3 separate regions of the Homo sapiens genome follow, and regions 2 and 3 are each linked to region 1. Evidence: promoter capture Hi-C in 16 types of primary human blood cells and fetal thymus (Javierre and others, 2016). All regions are on one chromosome and are shown on one strand. The core of a region is centred on a gene start or on the middle of the fragment in contact, and the rest is flanking DNA. Distances in the headings are between cores, read along the strand shown. Region 1 holds the start of RGS2 (regulator of G protein signaling 2). Region 2 overlaps LOC107985242 (a long non-coding RNA gene). Region 3 overlaps LOC107985242 (a long non-coding RNA gene).

Region 1 (4,798 bases), core at 1,161-3,660:
TTAAACTTCCTTGGCTTGGAGATATCTGAAAAGTGTAATTAATTATTATTATTATTTTAAGAGACAGGGTCTCACTCTATCACTCAGGTTGGAGTGCAATGGCACAATCATAGCTCACTGTAACTTGAATGCTTGAACCTCGAACTTCTGAGCTCAAGCCTTCCACCTGCCTCAGCCTCCCAAAGTGCTGGGATTTCCAGCATGAACCACAATACCCAGCCTGAAAAGTTTAAATGTTAATCAGTTTCCTTATTTTTCCTACGTATTATCCAGTGAGCATTTATTAAATATCTATAATGAGCTTAATCTTCTACAAATTTGTGTATCTTGTGTATTTGTGTACCTACAAATTGAAACATCTTGATATTTAATAGTACCTACATATTTATAACCTAATTACGTCTGAGTTAATCCTCGTACGATTTTTTCCATCTTGAACAGCTATGATTTGAACATTTCCTTTTGCCACACATATGCAAATCAGTAATAAACTTCCGTACAGTACTTTAGAGCTTAGAAAAGACCTTTCATGTAAGAGTCACATAATATCCTATGAGGCTGGCAAGAAAATACATGTTACTCTTATTACAGATGAGAAACTGGGACTCAAAGAGGTGTGAAGCTAGTGTCCCAACAGTTACTTAGCATTTACTGGATAAGCCCAGGCTCTAACTGGGTCTCCTGACAGAAGTCCAGCTCTCTCTCTCTGCTGCCTCTTTGTCAGAACTCCTGGCCTGCCAGCGAATTTAACTGTCTATGAGTAAATTCTAACATCTAAGGTTCTAAGTATAAAATATATTGAGGTTTACAGTGGTGAGAAAAAGCAAGTGTCTGCGTATTACAGACAGCTGATAAATACGTATTGAGTCATCAGAAAGTGAAAATAGATGTAGGACTATTATGCAAAGCATAGGAGAGGAAGAGCATATGCTTAAGAAAAAATGGCATTCCTAGAGTTAACAAGCATGTTTCAAAGTATCTATTACTGAAATCTACACGATTTTCCTTTCCACAATAAAGTCCACAACTGTTGTCTTAAATAATAACTGCAGGTTTTGCCCTCCAAGTCAAACTTGGAGCTCCAACTACTGGCAGCTCACCGTAAGAATATATTAATTATTTCCAATTTCCTTTTAAGAAGTCGAATACAAAGTAGAGAGAATATCTGCAGCTTGGTTGCAAAGCCGCTTAAACATTTCACTGGCTAGTTCTGGTAATATTATCCGAAATCAACTCATTTTGTGGTTGAGGTAATCTATTTGTCTTTACCAATCAAGTCGTTTTAAAACCTTCAGGAGTAGAGATGATACTTGAAGAATTAACAAATAAAACTTAATCAAGGAAACTGTTAACTCATTCTCCCCCCTACTTTTTGCCAGTTATTAAATGTTCTGGTAAATCCTAACTCAACAAGAATGACTCATGAGGAAATCCTGACTCCTTGAACTCACTGATTCTGGTGCATTACAGCTATGAAATCTCTATGTCTGCAGCTTTCTCTCCCACCATAAGGAAATCTGTGATTTCTATTTTGGCAGGAGATGTGACCAAGGACTCCTGAGGAATGACCCTATAGACAGACCCAGCCACGTGCCTAGTAGTGATCAAAAATGCAAACCCAATTAAAGCACTGTCTTCTGATAAAGTCACTTTCTCTTGTTCAATCCCTAATGTTCATTCTCAAAGTGTTCCAAGACGCCCCAGCAAGCTGCAGAGCAGATCCCACCCTGCCCCTGGGCAATCAACGTTTCAGGTTACTCCTTCCTTAAGTTAAGTGGCAGAGAGAAACGGGCGAGGGTCTCCCCATTGCCTCAGTTCACAGACCAGGGGGTGTCGAATGAGTCCTACAGCAGGACAGCAAACAAGAAATGAGGCGCGGGGTCAGGGAACGCGCTCAAAAAAGGAAGAAAAATCCCACTCTTCATTCGAAATCAGGCCACTGCACTCCGGCCTCGTGGCGGGCGACCTCCTCCTGCCAGGGAATCGCCGCTCTGGCCTCGGGCTGGGGAGCCCGTCAGGGTGGGTGAGGGAGCGCCGGCGCCCCCGCCGGGCCGCCGCCAACTTCGGCTCCCTCCCTCCGTCGCAAAGCCCTCGAGCCCGCCCGGCCGCCACGCTTCAGCAAAAGGTCGTGCGCAGCGGCCCACACTGAAGACTCTCCATCTGCTCCCACACCTGCCCCAGCTGGCCGCTGCTATGTGGCCCGAGTGCGCAAGAAGCCGGGGCCGCAGACGTCAGCAGCGCCCCGGCTTCGAGACCCTTCGGCAGCAGCCGTGACTGCCGCCGGCGGGCGCTGACCCATCCCCGTGCCAGTCTGCAGCCGACCAATCCGCGTCCTCTTGAGGCGGGGCCGGAGCCGCGAGGCCCCGCCCCCAAGCCGAGGCCTCATAAATGCTGCGACGCACGCCCAGCCGCAAACAGCCGGGGCTCCAGCGGGAGAACGATAATGCAAAGTGCTATGTTCTTGGCTGTTCAACACGACTGCAGACCCATGGACAAGAGCGCAGGCAGTGGCCACAAGAGCGAGGAGAAGCGAGAAAAGATGAAACGGACCCTGTGAGTATGGCTTTCTTCCCTCTCCCGCCACCCCCTGCCCCACACTGCAAGCTGCAAACGCGGTACTTTCGGGCTCGCCTTTGACGTTAGGAAACTAGCCTGAGCCTATGCAGGGAAAAAAAATCGAAAAGGTCAATTTGTTAAGTAAGGTTAAATCTGGGTGATGCTCGGGTACAGTTTAAGAACCGAGGGAGACAGTTGATATGAGGGCGGTGGTTGATGCGCTAAGAAATTGCGGGTTGGCTTTTTGTCCTCCTGCATTCAAAATGACATCAGAATCCTGCGGCTGAAGCGCGTCCCCAGCATTCATACGTTGCATGATGAGTTCTCATCAGCTTACACAGCTACTGGAAGGTGATGCTCTTGCTGGTTCTGAATATACTCGTTTAAAATCCATTTTTGTTTTTTAATTATAGAGCAGATCTCACCCAGTCCGAATGTGGAACAAATAATTGTTATGCAGCGTCTGCTTAAAAGAAGTGTCGTAGGTGGGGAAGGAAGAGCGCAGGGGAATCAGTCACCCACCTCTTTGTACAGTCTCTGGCGTGGTCCAGAACCTCCTGCTCTAAAGAGAGAAGCGTGGGCCGGCTCCAGACAGTTCCATGTCTGTCCTTTTCATTAAAGTGCAAAACGTCTCGGAATTGTAATTAACCTTGCAAACAAACTGATGCCCTTTGTGAGCCAGAAATAGTGTCTGCCTTTTGAACTAAATTCATTAACAATTCTTTAAAATACCCTAGTGATTATAGGTAGCCCTGCCCTTAGTTGTAAAACTAGTAGATACGGTCAGATTAATGGACGAAACTGCTCAGTACATGAGGTTTAAATGTTAGGTGGATAAGACTTATTTGAAGAGTTCTTGCTTTGCCTTATGCGGTTTGTCTCTAGTTACTGGGTGACTTTATTTGGTAAAAATGCGTTCAGCTGCAGTAGCATATTCAAGTGTTGCTAGTTAGTAATTATCTTTTTAATTTTTTGTTTTAGTTTAAAAGATTGGAAGACCCGTTTGAGCTACTTCTTACAAAATTCCTCTACTCCTGGGAAGCCCAAAACCGGCAAAAAAAGCAAACAGCAAGCTTTCATCAAGTAAGTTGAGAATCCTGTGCTTGCAAATATCAATAGTTAGCTGCTGAACTGAAAAGGGGAACTCTGATGTGCGTAAGCTAACATACAGAACCTCTCTTGCAGGCCTTCTCCTGAGGAAGCACAGCTGTGGTCAGAAGCATTTGACGAGCTGCTAGCCAGCAAATGTAAGTTAACTCTTGAGCTTGAGCCATTGCTAACATCGCAAAAGCCTGGAAAGGCTGCGTCCACCTAACAAAAGAGCAGCTTGCCTGAGGGGGATTAGACTGCAGTCACTATAGGATAAAGCCTGTTTTTCTTTCCTTTATTTCCCAGGGTTTAACAAATAAATGCATATATTCTCTCCAGGTGGGGAAGAAAATCAGCCTAAACAAATTAAAGTGGCAGTTGCTTATAGTTAAGGTTGAGTCAGTTTTTCCATTGCATACAATGTTTTCAAGAGGCTTAGTTCCCAGAGAATTTATGGCTCCCCTATAAATATTTACTTTGCATTGACAGCAAAGTACTTATATTTTTGCAGCAGAGTGCCAACATAAGCCTTTTGCCTACTGGTATCTTAGTCTTTAAAAAGCTAAATTTTGAGAATTACAGGTTTGAGCGAAATCTAGAAAATTCATTTAGAAATAATTAAAATGTGAGGGATAGGAGAAACATAAGGAATCATTTGGTCTCTCAGTTCTTCACATTCTGCATGCTCTCTTTTCTCCCCCCTTCAGATGGTCTTGCTGCATTCAGGGCTTTTTTAAAGTCGGAATTCTGTGAAGAAAATATTGAATTCTGGCTGGCCTGTGAAGACTTCAAAAAAACCAAATCACCCCAAAAGCTGTCCTCAAAAGCAAGGAAAATATATACTGACTTCATAGAAAAGGAAGCTCCAAAAGAGGTAAGGAAACAAGTTCCTAATTTCAGCACAATCTGGACATCTTTAGCACAAAAGTGAAACAAAGTAATCAAGGACAAAGCGGGCTAGGAGGGGTAAAAAGTCCCTCCACGTTGTAGCTTTCAGTTATGTTAAAGTTCTCCTGTGACTTAGCTAGTAAAGCTAATCACACATAATTTTTATTTTTTGTTTTCAAATACTAAATTTTAATCTTTAACTCTGAATACCAAATAAACAACTTTTTTGTTTTATTTCAGATAAACATAGATTTTCAAACCAAAA
Region 2 (4,798 bases), core at 1,682-4,181, 1.5 Mb after region 1:
TGGCTTGTACATCCCTGAGCCTGAATCTTGAGCATGGGTCTTCTTTGCTCAGGCGTTGTCACATGGAAGTATTTAACCTGTGGAATGAGCCCTTTTCAGGCTCCCTTTATTTTCCTGCATATACTTATCATTCTGGTTGTTCATATTCCTTTAACTTCTCCATTCCTTTAGTAGTTCCTCTTTCCTTCTTCTGTTTCTAGTCTAGGAACCTTTCTCTAACCCACTCTTTAGGCTTGTAAATATTCCAAAATCCATGGTTGGGATATTTTTTACCTGATTCCACTGCTGGATAAAGGGTGAAGTAAGCTTCAGTTTCTAAGCACAGAGAAACATAGAAAAGCGCCCATCTTGTCGTATTTCTGAGTGTAAAATGAACTCATTTCTGTATTTAAAAATAAAATCTGTATCTCTAAAGCTGCAAGAATAATTTTCTGCTGATTCTCAATTTTTTGGTAGAGGGTTGTAAATCTGGGCCAGGGGCATCATTTTGTTAAAATTTAATTTTATTGAACTTTGACAAATTATACTTGTAGATATTTATGAGATACAAAGTGATCCAATAATACGTATAAGTGTGGAATGTTGAGTCTAAGTAACATATCCACCATCTCAAATACTTATCATTTATTCCTCCAAGTATACACACACATACACACACACAAACACACACACACACAATGGTGAAACCCCGTCTCTACTAAAAATACAAAAATTAGCCGAGTGTAGTGGTGCACACCTGTAATCCCAGCTAGTCAGGAGGCTGAGGCAGGAGAATCTCTTGAACCCAGGAGATGAAGGTCGCAGTGAGCCGAGATCACACCACTGCACTCCGGCCTGGACTACAGAGCGAGATTCCGGAAAAAAAAAAAAAAAAAAAAAAAGACAGATATTCTGTCATTTGCAGAAGCATGGATGAATCTAGAGGACATTATGCTAAGTAAAATAAGCCAGGCACAGAAAGAAAAATACATATTCTTTCTTAAATGTGGAATCTAAAATAATTGAATTCATAGAGGTAGAGAGCACAATGACGGTTATGAGAAGATGAGAGGTGGGGGAAATGGGAAGATGGTCAATGGGAGTAACTTATCCTGAAATACAAATCAACCATTCCATCTGTGATTAGAAAGATTATCCCAATACAAAAGAAATGAGTGTCAGTTCCAATGCAATTTACTTTGCTCTCCATGAGATCTGGTCATCAGGATGCTTAAAACTATCTCCAGCCCAGTGGTAAACCCTGACCATATTCAGGGTATACGTATACCCTGCCAACCATGAGGAGTAACATGAGAAGAAATCAATCTCTCTTGCTTTCTCATTTCATTACCAACTGCCAAGCTCTCCTCTGTGCCATATTTCCCTTAGACTTTGTCCTTCATTGTCATGTCCCTATGACTAAGTTTCCTTCTAGGATTGAGCTCCTGCCAACTTTTATTAGTTTCCCTCCAAGTTACCAGAATGCATACCTTCTGCCTAAGTATAGAACATTTTCAACAAATATGCCTGATAGCCATTGCTTCCCAGGTTTGTTTTATCATCTACCCAATAATGTTTGTTTGTTTCTGTTGTTGTTGTTTTCTGATTTGAACAAACTATTGCTGTTTATTTGGAATGAGGACCTAGGTTGCTGACTCATTCGCTATGGTATCTATACTTCATTCTGAATATATAACATTCGTACTTGTAAATAGATCTCTACTCCAAATGGCAGTTCAATCTTAGGGACTGGATCCAGAACAGCACCTAGACCTAAGCTTATTTATTTGAACATTTCCTATCATGAGCCATATGTCAGAAATTTTAGTTTAGGAAGCTGTGGTAGCTGAATGCTTTCCTGTAGCCCAGGACTATTATTCTCTAGAACTTGGCTGAGCATGAGAAGAAAAATAGAACAAGCAGATGGGCTTTGCCTTCGGGTATGGCAGCACACTTCATTCTTTAGAGTATAAGCTTGCTGCTCATGACACTACGGCAGAGCAGAGCCTAAGAGGCCACATAGAGATGAAAATTGCTGCCTTGGCCTCATTATTCAAAGTCTCACTACCCAGAATACAAGCTTAGAAAGGATTCTTCACTATTTTATTCCTATTCTTGCCTGTCAGGAGATATTGTTGAGCCTGTACACCATGTGAAACATCATTTAAAGTTCTATGGAGGATATATGAAAATATTTGGAAAACAGAACCACTCTCAACCCCCACAAAAAAAAACTGAAAAAAGAAATAAAATGTTTATTTTTTCTATGCAAAGCAAATATGAAGTCTCCCCTCTCATTCAACAGTATTTCTGCCTCAAAAAATAAATAAAACATAATCAAAACACTTTAAATTCACTCTAACATGTAACAAAACTGTCACTGGAGATCTCCTGATTTGAGAAATCATAGGGTCTGCAAAACCACAGACTAAATATAATGCTAGACATTTATGTAAAATATTTCAGCAACAATATGAGTTGTATTATTAGGATGAACAATGATGGCCTTATGGTTAAATAAGCATATCTGAATACCTTATTTCTCAAACACACTGAAAATATGGGTTCTGCAAATGGTATCCCTCTTTCTCCCTAAACCTAGAGCAGTGCCCAAGAGAACAGAATACAGGGCCAAGTTTTATGTATTTAAATTCTGTTCTCCCACTTAAAGGTTCTGTTACTATAAAAAAAAAAAACGCAGTACTTGTTCTATGCTTCAGTTACCTTCTATATCATAACAAGATAATGATTGCATCTATTCAAGGAGTTACCAAGAAAATAAAACAAATTTATATAAGAAAACATGAAGGCTAGTGTCTGCCAAATATTAAGTACTTAATGAGTTATTATTATCATAACTCTCTCTATATTAATCAATAAATATTCATTTAAACATGAAGCCATACCAGAGGTTATGTAGTGGGTTAATAACTGTATCGCTTTCCTATCCATAAGGGAGTCCTTGAGAAACAGCAGTTTGAGGGAGTGAAGAGTAGAAGAAGATACTAAAATTAGAGAGAAAGGCTAATATTTAATTAACACTTAAAATGTGTCAGAACTTCTGCATGCATTATCTGATTTTGCCCTCAAACCAACTCTTGTAACTAGCCCAGGTCTGCACAACCAGGAATGGCAGAACAGAAATTAGAACAAGTTCTTCTCTTATCAATGAATATGATGCTCTTGAGGAAAAGCAAGAGGAGACAGAAAGAAATCCGGTATTTTAAACATAGGATTATATAGCCAAAACTAATTTACCAAGTTTATTATACAATTGCTCAAAGTTTCGCTTTGCCCATATAGGCATTATCTACCCTTTTAATTCTCCCCATTGTTGATAAAACCATAAGTTGAATCAAAAAGAACCTCACTGTTTGAATATTATTTAGTACGTCAATGTTTTATTTTGTATATTGGTAAATTATTTGGTTATTTTCTGTTTCTAATAGTTTTTAAATAATTTTGAATTATAGAATGTGGTCTATTAATATAGAATTTTTAAAATACATTTTGTGTATTGACCTTTTAAAACAAGAGGAGGCTTCCTTAAAGTGTCTTTTCACTGTTGTTAAATATACCAGCACATAAAATGTTAATGGAAATACTGCCTTTTAATGTTAGGTAGTGACCTTTATTATAAATGAATTTATCTCTAGAGTATATTTTTCAAAGTTAAAAGAAACCAATTAAAATGTTCTAACACTGAAGAAGCAATAAACCTCAAAAAATATCTGAATATGGAATATAGTTCTTAATTTACTGTCTCTTCACATGCAACATACCCAGAAGGTGTGCTATTGACTTACTATTGTGTTTCTTGATAAGAAGCTTATAAAGTGTCTGCTTAACTTTTCCTTTTCAAATTAACAAGATAATACGAGCATGTAGGTAAGCCATTGGCAAGGGCTAGAGGATAGCCATTTAAAAACAGAAAATATATATTATTGTGTTTTTATCACAATTTTCCTGGCTCAGAAATGAAAAAAAAAAAAAAAACCTTAGACTTGGCCCAGTATGTAAATGATGCAGGAAGCCATGTCCCCTGTCTATCTCTCCAACCACATCTGCTTCTGTTCTCTAATATGCATATATTCTTACAGTACCATCTTCAGGGATTTCTTTGACTTTTATATGCCAGCTTCTTGCTTAGGATGTTTTTTCTTTCTCTCTTACACAATTGATAAATGCCTATTCATTCTTTAATATCATTTATTCATTCAAAAATTTATTGAGCACTATGTGATAGGAACTATTTTTAAGTTCTGGTAACACAGCAGCAAACAATATAGACAAAAGTCCTTTCTTTCATGGAGTTTATATTTCAGTATGAGAAAACAATATACAAGTAAATGTATATATATTTATACATATATAAACATATTCTTATATATTATATATTTGTACATATATAAACATATTCTTATATATTATATATTTGTACATATATAAATATATTCTTATGTATTATATATTTGTACATATATAAATATATTCTTATGTATTATACATTTGTACATATATAAATATATTCTTATGTATTATACATTTGTACATATATAAATATATTCTTATGTATTATACATTTGTACATATATAAATATATTCTTATGTATTATACATTTGTACATATATAAATATATTCTTATGTATTATACATTTGTACATATATAAATATAATATATTTTTATGTATTATATATTTGTACATATATGAATATATTTTTATGTATTATATATTTGTACATATATGAATATATTTTTATGTATTATATATTTATACATATATAAATATATATTATATATTATATATACATGTATAA
Region 3 (4,798 bases), core at 1,358-3,857, 1.5 Mb after region 1:
AATAAGTTGCTTGCTTCTCAATGTTTACCAAGCACGGAGTGAGTTACTGGATATCCACTATTCTCTAGATAATTAATTGATAGCATTAAATATGCCCAACTCTGGCCTTGTAACTTTAGAAAGTCCCATGAGTTAATTATGCTGTGTAGGTTTTGCTTCTTAAGAAAACTGAACGTATTTTTAATACTATGGTGTTTGTTAGGTTAAAAGTTAATTGGAAAAATAAAATATTTCCACTCCAAGCAGAATTTGTTTTTCACCTGTGGCTAACATATGAAAATTATACACTTTCTTGGTGCTACATAGTACAATACAAAAATTGTGCTGCAAAACAAAAATTAAAAGATGTAAAGAATTTTGGTGTGACTTTCAGTGATCATGATATGCTTAAAATAATATGCATAATTGAAACAAAAGAATGAATCTTTGAATATAAACCACAGAATATTTCCAGGAAAAGCATATTAGCTTGTCTCAGTTAAATCTTCCAACCAAAGGCTAGAAAATTTGAGTAACTTCTTTTTATTAGTCACTTTAAAGCTTTCAAGTCCTGTAGGAACAAGATCCTGGACAGAGGAGAAGCAAAGAGGTGAATGTGGATTTCCTATGTGTGATTCTTCCATCTGGGGATACGACAATCCACATACGGTGGTATGGAATTCAAGAAGTTGAACAAATATATTTTTTTAATCTCCCAGAGGTGGGATAAAATAAATTGAATGTAAGCCTGACGGGGAGGAGCACACAAATACTTTAGCCTTTTATTTGTGAGGCCTGAAGGAATATACTCTTAAAAAAACAGTAACTTAGGAACTGACTAGCTGTCACAAACATTGAAATCCCACCAAGTATTAGCTCAATCACTAACTGAATTATGGTAATTTCCAATAACCTATACTGAATTCTAGAGTCTGGAAACTGAAGATAGCTATGAGCAATTTACCAAGACTATGGAAGTATGGATTACAGTTCAGGGCTTGCAGAGGTGGAACAATTTTTATGAATACACTAGTCTTCCAGTTGCATGAAGACAAAATCAAGTAAGATGTAGACCAGATCTCATAATGATTTGTAATCAGTTTCAAATAAGCTTAATTTCATATTGGATTAAGGTGGTATGGCCCAAATTTAACTACCTGTGAAAAACGAAAGAAAAACTCTATAAAGACAAGCCAATGTGTTAAAATATTTCTAATTTTTTTTCTGCACAATTCCATTTAAAAAATTACATGTCATAGGCCACGCGCGGTGGCTCACCCCTGTAATCCCAGCACTTTGGGAGGCCGAGGCGGGCAGATCACAAGGTCAGGAGATCTAGACCATCCTGGCTAACACGGTGAAACCCCGTCTCTACTAAAAATACAAAAAATTAGCCAGGCGCCTATAGTCCCAGCTACTTGGGAGGCTGAGGCAGGAGAATGGTGTGAACCCAGGAGGCGGAGCTTGCAGTGAGCCGAGATAGCGCCACTGCACTCGGGCCTGGGCAAAAGGGCGAGACTCCGTCTCAAAAAAAAAAAAAAAAAAAAAAAAAAATTACATGTCATAGCAATGGGCAAAAATAAATGGTGGTGCTAATTATGGTGATCATGATGATAATAACAAAGATTAGAAAAGAAACAAAGAAATAGTTTCAGAGGAGTAATAGGTTATGAGGATTTGAGACCTAAATTATAATATGAGATTAATTAATATTTTCAACCAAATAAAGATGAATTGGAATTTTTCGTCAGAGAACTGAACTTTATAAAATGAGTTATGAGAAAATTAAAAGAATAGAAAATATGCTATATGTAAAATTAAGAATTAAAGGGCTGTACTGAAAAACACATGAGAAACAGCAAAAGACAAGATTGGAGATCTGAACAGTAAAACAAATGAAAATATTTAGAGAGAATACAGAAAGAACAGAGATACCATGAATAGGTCTAATATATGTGCAAATGCAGTCCCATTAGAAATGAAAAAAAATTAGACAGGATAATTATTTGAATAAGTAATAGCTAACGATTTCCAAAAACTGATTACTGATATGAAGTCACAGATTTATGGAGATATATATAGATATATATATATAAAGTCAGGCCTTCCATAAATATATATACACGCAAAAACTATATATGATATATATATCAATATCATATAGATATTATATATCTATATATAATATAAACATATAATCTATAGTATATAATAACACATAACACATTATAGTAAAGTATCTAAAATGTTGAATAGAAAGAGAAAATTTATAACCACCATCTGATTCAATGCTATTCCTATCAAACTACCAATGATGTTTTCATAGAATTAGAAGAAACTATTCTAAAATTCGTATGGAACCAAAAAAAAAAAAAAAAGCCTGAATAGCCAAAGCAATCGTATGCAAACAGTACAAAGCCAGAGGCATCACACTACCCAACTTCAAGCTATACAACAAGGCTACAGTAATCAAAACAGCATAGTACTGGTACAAAAATAGACACATAGACAAATGGATCATGGTGGAGAGCCTAGAAATAAAGCCACACACCTACAACCATCTGATATTTGACAGAAACAAGCAACAGGGAAAGGAATCGCTAGTCAATAAATAGTGCTTGCATAACTTTCTAGCCATAAGCAAAAGATTGAAACTGGACCTTTTCCTTTTATCATAAACTAAAATCAATTCGAAATGGATTAGAGATTTAAATGTAAAAGCCAGAACTATAAAAACCTGGAAATAACTAGGAAATACCATTCTGGAAATAGGCACTGGGAAATATTTTGTTATAAAGACTCCAAAAGCAATTGCAACAAAAACAAAAATTAACAAGTGGGACTTAATTAAACTGAAGAGCTTCTGCACAGCAAAGGAAACTTTTAACAGAGTAAAGAGATGACCTATGAAATGGAAGAAAATATTTGCAAACTATGCATCTGACAAGGGCCTACTATCCAGAATCCATAAAGAACTTAAACAATTTAACAATAAAAAAAAACCATTAAAAAATGGGCAAAAAATGTGAATGGACACTTCTCAAGAGAAGACATACACGTAGCCAGCACGCATGTAAAAAAAAAAAAATGTTCAATATCACTAATCACTAGAGAAATGCAAATCAAAACCACAATGAGATACCATCTCACACCAGTCAGAATGGCTATTATTAAAAAGTCAAAAATTAACAGATGTTGGCAAGGTTTTGGAGAAAAGGTAATGCTTATACAGCGCTGGTGAGAATGTAAATTAGTTCAGTCACCGTGGAAAGCATTTTCGAGGTTTCTCAAAGAACTTAAAACAGAACTACCATCCAACCGAGCAATCCCATTTCTGGGTATATACCCAGAGGAATAGAAATCATTCTACCATAAAGACATATGAATGTGTGTATTCATCATGGCACTATTCGCAATAACAAAGACATGGAATCAACCTAGATGCCCATCAACAGTGGACTGGATGAAGAAAATATGAAACACAGGAATAGAAAACCAAATGTCACATGTTCTTACTTATAATTGGAGGTAAACATTGAACACATTTGAACACAAAGAAGGGAACAATAGACACCAGGCCCTTCTTGAAGGTGGAGGGTGGGAGAAGGGAGACATCAAAAAACTACCTACAGGGTACTATGCTCATTAACTGGGTGACCAAATAATCTGTACACCAAACCCCCACAACACACAATTTATCTATGTGACAAACCTGCCCATGTACCCTCTGCACCTACAATAAAGGTTGGAAAGAAAAATTTTTTAAATAAAAATAAAACCACTGTAGTAATTCGTTGTGACTGCCATAACAAAACACATAGACTGGGTAGCTCAACAACAGAAATTTATGTTCTCAGTTCTTGTGGGTAAGGAAATCCGAGACAAAGGTGCTGGACAATTTGGGTCCTGGTAAGAACTCTTTTCCTGGCTTCCAGGTGGCTGCCTTTTTGCCTTATATGACAGAGACAGAGAGTGAGAGAAAGAGAGAACAAGAAAGAGAAAGGAGAGAGTGAGAAAGAAGGGGAGAAACAGCTCTTCGTTTTTCTTCTTATGAGGCCACAGTCCTACGGAATTAGGGCCTCACCCATCTAACCCTATTTAGCCTAATTACCTTCTAAAGACCTATCTCTAAGTATAATAACATAGAAGCTTAAGGCATCAACATATGAATTTTAGAAAGACAAAATGCAGTCTCTTGCAAACAGTTAAATTTCTTCAAAAAACAATAATGAGATTAATAACTGGCCTGTTAACATAAATGATAAAAAAAACACGGTTTGATTTTTTTTCAAGGGCTGAAAAACTAAATAACACTTACCAATAAAGAATTCTATAGAGGCCAGGCGCGGTGGCTCATGCCTGTAATCTCAGCACTTTGGGAGGCTGAGGCGGGTGGATCATGAGGTCAGGAGTTTGAGACAAGCCTGGTCTATACGGTGAAACGCTGTCTCTACTGAAAACACAAAACTTAGCTGGGTGTGGTGGCAGGTGCCTGTAGTCCCAGCTACTCGGGAGGCTGAGGCAGGATAATTGCTTGAAGCCAAGAGGCGGAGGCTGCAGTGAGCCAAGATCGCGCCACTGCACTCCAGCCTGGGTGACAAAGTGAAACTCCCATCTCAAAAAAAAAAAAAAAAAAAGACATTCTATCATAGTAAAAAATGTCCTTCAAAAATTAAAGCAAAATAAACACAATTTTTAGACAAAAAAAATTGAGAGGTTTCATCAGCAGCAGATTTTCAGTAAAGGGAATATAAAAGGACATTTCCAAAGTATAATGACTCAATATGAACACAGGAAGGCAGAGGAAGGCATAATGAAC

What was found. The method cuts DNA at HindIII sites, captures the fragments that hold promoters and counts their contacts. A CHiCAGO score of 5 or more calls a contact.
Region 2: a contact is called between a fragment that was not itself captured here and the fragment with the promoter of RGS2 in region 1, in 2 of 17 cell types (total CD4 T cells and naive CD8 T cells). The highest score is 5.7, in total CD4 T cells.
Region 3: a contact is called between a fragment that was not itself captured here and the fragment with the promoter of RGS2 in region 1, in 2 of 17 cell types (total B cells and naive B cells). The highest score is 9.5, in total B cells.

Annotation. Positions count from the first base shown.
Region 1 is chr1:192,806,629-192,811,426 of GRCh38, forward strand. It overlaps RGS2 (regulator of G protein signaling 2), which reads left to right and starts at 2,411. Exons shown (of 5, transcript NM_002923.4): 1 at 2,411-2,553; 2 at 3,538-3,639; 3 at 3,742-3,803; 4 at 4,353-4,519; 5 at 4,774-4,798. The coding sequence starts at 2,444. RefSeq lists silencers at 862-951, 1,888-2,097, 3,605-3,664 and an enhancer at 2,428-2,647. The HindIII fragment of the contact is 4,593 bases long and covers 1-3,627 here.
Region 2 is chr1:194,299,171-194,303,968 of GRCh38, forward strand. All of the region lies in intron 2 of LOC107985242 (a long non-coding RNA gene), which reads right to left. It overlaps LOC105371670 (a long non-coding RNA gene), which reads right to left and starts at 776. Exons shown (of 3, transcript XR_922390.2): 1 at 737-776. The HindIII fragment of the contact is 1,748 bases long and covers 2,058-3,805 here.
Region 3 is chr1:194,274,966-194,279,763 of GRCh38, forward strand. The region is part of intron 2 of LOC107985242 (a long non-coding RNA gene); the gene reads right to left. Among named protein-coding and RNA genes, the nearest start is that of LINC01031, 970 kb to the left of the region's middle. The HindIII fragment of the contact is 3,038 bases long and covers 1,089-4,126 here.